Regions from separate parts of the Homo sapiens genome. Here region 2 is linked to region 1. Evidence: promoter capture Hi-C in 16 types of primary human blood cells and fetal thymus (Javierre and others, 2016). All regions are on one chromosome and are shown on one strand. The core of a region is centred on a gene start or on the middle of the fragment in contact, and the rest is flanking DNA. Distances in the headings are between cores, read along the strand shown.

The links. Contacts are between HindIII fragments. The CHiCAGO score rates a contact against its expected background, and 5 or more counts as called.
Region 2: the fragment with the promoter of SLC39A2 here is called in contact with a fragment that was not itself captured in region 1 in 1 of 17 cell types (M0 macrophages); the score reaches 5.1 in M0 macrophages.

What each region holds. Positions count from the first base shown.
Region 1 is chr14:20,429,461-20,432,410 of GRCh38, reverse strand. KLHL33 (kelch like family member 33) reads left to right here. Exons shown (of 5, transcript NM_001365790.2): 3 at 1,692-2,616; 4 at 2,742-2,909. Among named protein-coding and RNA genes, the nearest start is that of KLHL33, 5.2 kb to the left of the region's middle. RefSeq lists an enhancer at 2,785-2,950. The HindIII fragment of the contact is 2,721 bases long and covers 1-2,625 here.
Region 2 is chr14:20,997,864-21,000,723 of GRCh38, reverse strand. SLC39A2 (solute carrier family 39 member 2) reads right to left here and starts at 1,431. Exons shown (of 4, transcript NM_014579.4): 1 at 1,163-1,431; 2 at 852-982; 3 at 558-608. The coding sequence starts at 1,277. It overlaps LOC101929718 (a long non-coding RNA gene), which reads left to right and starts at 1,561. Exons shown (of 4, transcript NR_110139.1): 1 at 1,561-1,950. RefSeq lists an enhancer at 173-1,372. The HindIII fragment of the contact is 5,548 bases long and covers 1-2,647 here.

The DNA.
Region 1 (2,950 bases), core at 16-2,515:
CCAGGCATAGTGGCTCACGCCTGTAATCCCAACACTTTGGGAGGCCGAGGCAGGCAGATCACTTGAGGCCAGGAGTTCAAGGTTAGCCTGTCCAACATGGCGAAACCGTCTCTACTAAAAATACAAAAATTAGCCAGGCATGGTAGCGTGCACCTGTAGTCCCAGCTAATCTGGAAGCTGAGGCACGAGAATCACATGAAGCTGGAGGGTGGAGGTTGCAGTGAGCCGAGATTGTACCACTGCACTCCAGGCAGGGTGACAGAGTAAGACCCTATCTCAAAAAAAAAAAAATTGGTTATCCTATAAAATGCTCCATTTTCTTGATTTGTGTGGTTTTTCCCCTCTAAATTGTTCCTTTAGCCTTTCAACTTCCTATAAACTTGACTTTAGATCTAAAGAGTTGAACAGATTCAAGTTAAATATTTTGGCCAGAATAATCCATAAGTGATGCTGAGTATGAGGTCTAATTGTTTAACAGCGTAGGTTAATAGGACAGTTTCATTGTCATGAGGACCATGCAGATAACCAAGGTATTGGTACACAAGCATGCTTATTGCAGCCTGACATCAGTGGCAGTGGATGGAGATGATCTGCCCACACAGCCACTGCATGGAAATGAAAAATAAATCACATGCTTTCTTTGGGACCCAACTCAGTTTCCACATTTTATTTATTTATTTATTTTGAGATGGAGTCTCGCTCTGTCACCCAGGCTGGGTGCAGCGGCGCAGTCTCAGCTCATTGCAACCCTCGCCTCCCAGGTTCAAGCTATTCTCCTGCCTCAGTCTCCAAGTAGCTGGGATTACAGGCGCCTGCCACCATGCCCGGCTAATGTTTGTATTTTTGGTAGAGATGGAGTTTCACCATGTTGGCCAGGCTGGCCTTGAACTCCTGACCTCAAGTGATCCTACCCACCTCAGCCTCCCAAAGTGCTGGGATTACAGGTGTGTGCCACGACACCCAACCAGTTTCCTTATTTTAAAGGGAATAATTGAATTAGATTATTTTGAAGTTCTCAAGTTTCAGATCTCATGATTCTACAAATTACACCAAGAACAGGAGAGGGTTATGCAGAGAAAAGCTGGGACGCACGGAAAACATTAAACACTAAATCTTAGGCAAGAGGAGACAGCAATCCGATGAGGTTGGATTACAGCCATTCCCGAGTGGTGCCACTTTCCCAGCAAAATCTAACAGAATGGCTGACAGTCTTGGCTCTTGATTGTAAAGAATTTTATTTTGTCACGATATAGACAGACCTATATAAGTTGCTTGTTGGTCATTTCCCATTTATTTTGTGCTCCTCTTAGCAAATGCTTTCCTCTCAACCTGATCCATGAAGACTCTTTTTCTGACTCATCTGACCAAAAAGACTAAAGCAATGTTTATCTAAGTGTCTTCAGGCCACTAACATGAGAATCACATAGGGTTACTTGAAGTGTTACAATACAAATTTCTAGGGTCTCCGTCCAGAACTGCTGAATCAGAATCTCTGGGAGTGGACTGCTGAAACCTGCATTTTAACAACTACCCCATGGTATTCTGATGCACACCACAGTTTGGTCTGTAGCAGTGGGTGGCTTGGAGGGCCAAACTTAGAGTTTGGCCAAACTTAGAGTACCAAGTTGGGGTAATGCCTATCGGTCTTGCAATACTTTGAGTCCTCCTCTATTCCTTCTCCCCTCCTGCAGTGCACCGAGCCGCCCTGGCCTGTGGCAGTGAGTTCTTTGGGGCCATGCTCCTGAGCGGGATGAGGGAATCCCAGGGCACAGAGGTATCTCTGCGGACGATCTCCACCCAGGACCTGCGACTCCTCGTCTCTTTTGCTTACTCCGGAGTTGTGCGGGCAAGGTGGCCAGGGCTACTGAGAGCTGCCCAGGCTGCTCTGCAGTACCAGAGCTCTTCCTGCTTGGATTTGTGTCAGAAAGGCTTGGCACGGGGCCTCAGCCCTGCCCGTTGCCTGGCCCTGTTCCCCATGGCGGAAGCCCCTGGGTTGGAGAGGCTCTGGAGCAAAGCCCGTCACTACCTCCTCACCCACCTGCCTGCTGTAGCCTTGTGTCCTGCTTTCCCTTCTTTACCAGCTGCCTGCTTGGCTGAGCTCCTGGATAGTGATGAGCTCCATGTGCAGGAGGAGTTTGAGGCCTTTGTGGCTGCACGGTGTTGGCTGGCTGCCAACCCCGAGACCCAGGAGTCAGAGGCCAAGGCCCTGCTGCGATGTGTCCGCTTTGGCCGCATGTCCACCAGGGAGTTGCGGAGGGTGCGGGCAGCCGGGCTACTTCCACCCCTGACCCCAGATCTGTTGCACCAGCTGATGGTAGAGGCTGATGTTCCAGGCCAAGAGAGACGGAGGGAGCCTGACCGGGCACTGGTAGTGATTGGCGGGGATGGGCTCAGACCAGACATGGCCCTAAGACAACCATCCCGAGCAGTGTGGTGGGCCCGGGCCTTCCGCTGTGGCGTGGGACTGGTACGAACTGTTGAGTGGGGGCAGCTGCCTGCCCTGCCTGCCCCCGGACGCTTCCGGCATGGGGCTGCAAGCCTGGCAGGAAGTGAACTCTATGTGTGTGGGGGACAAGATTTCTACAGTCACTCCAACACCCTGGCTTCAACTCTCAGGTATAAGCTTCTAGGAGTGGGCAGGGTGTGGCAGGCCCTAAGGTGGGCAGGGAGAGAAATTGCTGGCCTAGCCAACCACGGATGCCCAGAGTCCCTCTTCCAATCTCTTGTCCTACTGTGTCCAGGTGGGAGCCCAGTCAAGAGGACTGGGAGGAGATGGCTCCTTTGTCCCAGGCTCGAAGCCTTTTCTCCTTGGTGGCACTGGATGGAAAACTTTATGCCCTGGGTGGAAGACACAATGATGTTGCCCTGGACTCTGTGGAGACCTACAACCCTGAGCTCAATGTCTGGAGGTAAGCAGGCAAGGGGGCATCTGGGAGAGATTAGGAGACTT
Region 2 (2,860 bases), core at 182-2,681, 570 kb before region 1:
GAAGTGGGCAGATCACTTGAGGTCAGGAGATTGAGACCAGCCTGGCCAACATGATGAAACCCCGTCTCTACTAAAAATACAAAAACTAGCCAGGTGTGGTGGCACGTGCCTGTAATCCCAGCTACTCAGGAGGCTGAGGCAGGAAAATCACTAGAACTCGGAAGGCAGAGGTTGCAGTGAGCCGAGATTGTGCCACTGTACTCCAGTCTGGGCGACAGAGAGATTTCATCTCAACAAACAAACGAAAAACAACAACAACAAAAGACTGCCAGAGGGGCTAAGGGACAGAATCTCAATAGAGTTAAAAACATGGGCAAATGATGTGAGGTATATCAGAGGATCCAGGGAAAGAATGAAAGAGTAAAACAAGGGCTTTCCCTGGCATTCTATAAACTCAAAAGGATTGGATTTGCTCCTCTTTTCCTCTACGATGTCTGAGCTAGGGAGCAGAAGGGATTCTTGGTACTCCTCATGTATTCCTCTCAAAAGGGTCTGGATATGAAAGGCCTCTCTGGTTCTCCTCACTCTCCAGATAGGGGATGGTGGGAGGTACTTACATGAGCTGAATCAGCATCACCAGAAGAATTTCTCTCACTTGCTGATCTGTTCTAAGAAGAAAGCAGCAGAAATTAGATGTGGGATGGAGCAGCACAGCTTCCTGTGCTGTCCCTTCAGCAATTCTGTTTTCCTTAAAGCCTAATCTGACTTGCTTTCACCATCCCACACAAGAGCTGTCATTTTCCTTGTCGTTCCACCCATGTCCTTGGCTCCATCACTTTCCCGCTCTCTTCCCTTTGTCCTGTTTATCATTTTGGCCTCATAGACCTGCGGCTTGAAATCTCTGCTCTCACCTGCACCATGAACTTCTGAATCTGTGATTCAATTTCCTCCAGGGCTTCAGCAGTCATATGCATGAACCCTGCTCCCAGGAAAACACCAGCAGAAATACAGCCCAGGAGTCTGAGGACTAGCCGGTGATGACCTAATAAAAAGCAGAAGTTACAACCCACTTGACACTGAGGAGACAGACAAAGGTGAGTAAAGAGCAGCAGGCAGCACTCAATATCCCAAGGTTGGGGATGGTGAGAGAATCAGAGCAAGGTATCAGGACAGGGTTGAGGTGAGACTCAGGCTATGGAACAAAGATGGGGTAGGGCTATACCTCTGGCTGCATCAATCTGGAACCATTTGAAGCAGATGGGAGTAAGGCCACAGCCCAGAGTGAGAGCCAACAGGGCAAACAGGCAGCCAAGTTTTATTCCTAGTAGTTGCTCCATCTCTGGGGTGTAGGGTAAGCCCAGGAGTCAGAATGACAAGGGAGCTGTAATCTTTGGAGCAGGAGTGGTATCTTAGGTGGTCAACACTGGAGTGTCCACTCTCGTGAGTTTCAGGAGGCTGTTGGTATCTTCTTTCTGTGTTGCTTCTGCTTCTGCAGCATTGCAGAGCTGACAGATCCTGCCCCAGCTTCTAGCCCTCCCCCTGCATGGAGGCCCCTCCCCTGGTTCACGCCTTCCTGAGCTTGGAAACCAGAAACTCCAGACTCCCTGCCAGGCACAGCCCAGTGGCGTCTTCTCCTCCTCTTCAATGGCATGACTAATCCAAGAGCTACGGATAGTCTTAGTTCATGTGCTTGGGGTTGGTCTAATCCAAAATAGGAAAGTCTATGGTAGCTGCTTCCCAGCTATTTTGTACTGGGGACAATCTGGTCCTGTCTCACTCAGGACGTTTGATCTAAGCCTTCCATACCCTCTCCACCTCATCCCAAGTCTTATAGGTTGCAATGCTGATACTTGAACCACCCGCTTTCAGAGATTTGGGGCCACCTGGAGGTAAAGAGGTGGGGCTGAGAGGTGGTGCTGGTGCTACTCTGTGGGAACTAGTACCCACATGAGGGAACTACCCTTTCCTGTAACCCCAGAAAAATAGCTCCAGGCATGGAAATGTCTAGTGGTAAGTTGATTTGTTTTTTTTCTTTCTCTTTTGATTGGGATCAGTTTTGAGAGGAATGAGTTGAGATGTCTGGTATTACAACATTTATACTGTTACAACTTCTAACTGTGCCTGTTTCCTGGTAAGAACTGTGGAAAAAAAGACATTTAAGGTTTAAGACAAAGGAAGCTGCTCTAGCCCTGAAACAGCAAGGCTTAGGGGAAAACAGAAATGAACTGAGTGAATGGGAGGATTCTACCTGGATATAGAGAGGTGGGGGTAGAAGATTCAGTTCTGATGGGAATCACTCTTGATGGAAATGTCTGGGGCATTTCCCATACATACTCTAGGGTAGCTGAGGGACCCTGGGAAAGACAGAAGGGAAGGCGTTAGTACAAGAGGCCAGGCAGCTGCTGATTCCCCTATTCAGGTGGCCCACATAACAACCCTGAGACCTGTTGAGCCAGTTCTCAGAGCTCTGGAGGCAGCTTTCCTTGCTACTCCAGATTATTTTCCTAGGGAAGTCCTGGCCTCTGGTAGAAGCAGTATTCTTACAGTGTTACTGGATGATTCTTACAGTGTTACTGGTCCTGCTGCTTGTTCTTGTGGTCCGGTAATGAGATGCAGACAGACAGACTGGGAAAGACGGGAGTTTATTTCTGCAACTGATTACAGGGAGGTCGGAGTAGCACACCAGACCAACTCAAAGTTACAAGCTTTTCTTTAGCTTTTATATACAATTCAAGCTCTATGACTACCTGCGGGAATGTTTCCTAATTAATCTAAACTAGGGGTCTGCAGGTAGAAGTTTTTTTTTTGTTTTTTAGAAACAAAGCAATAAACGATTTGATTTAGAAATAAAACCATTCCCATTATTGCAGCATTATCATCAGTCACTGATTGCTAATGCTGTTTACGCTTCTTTTTCCCT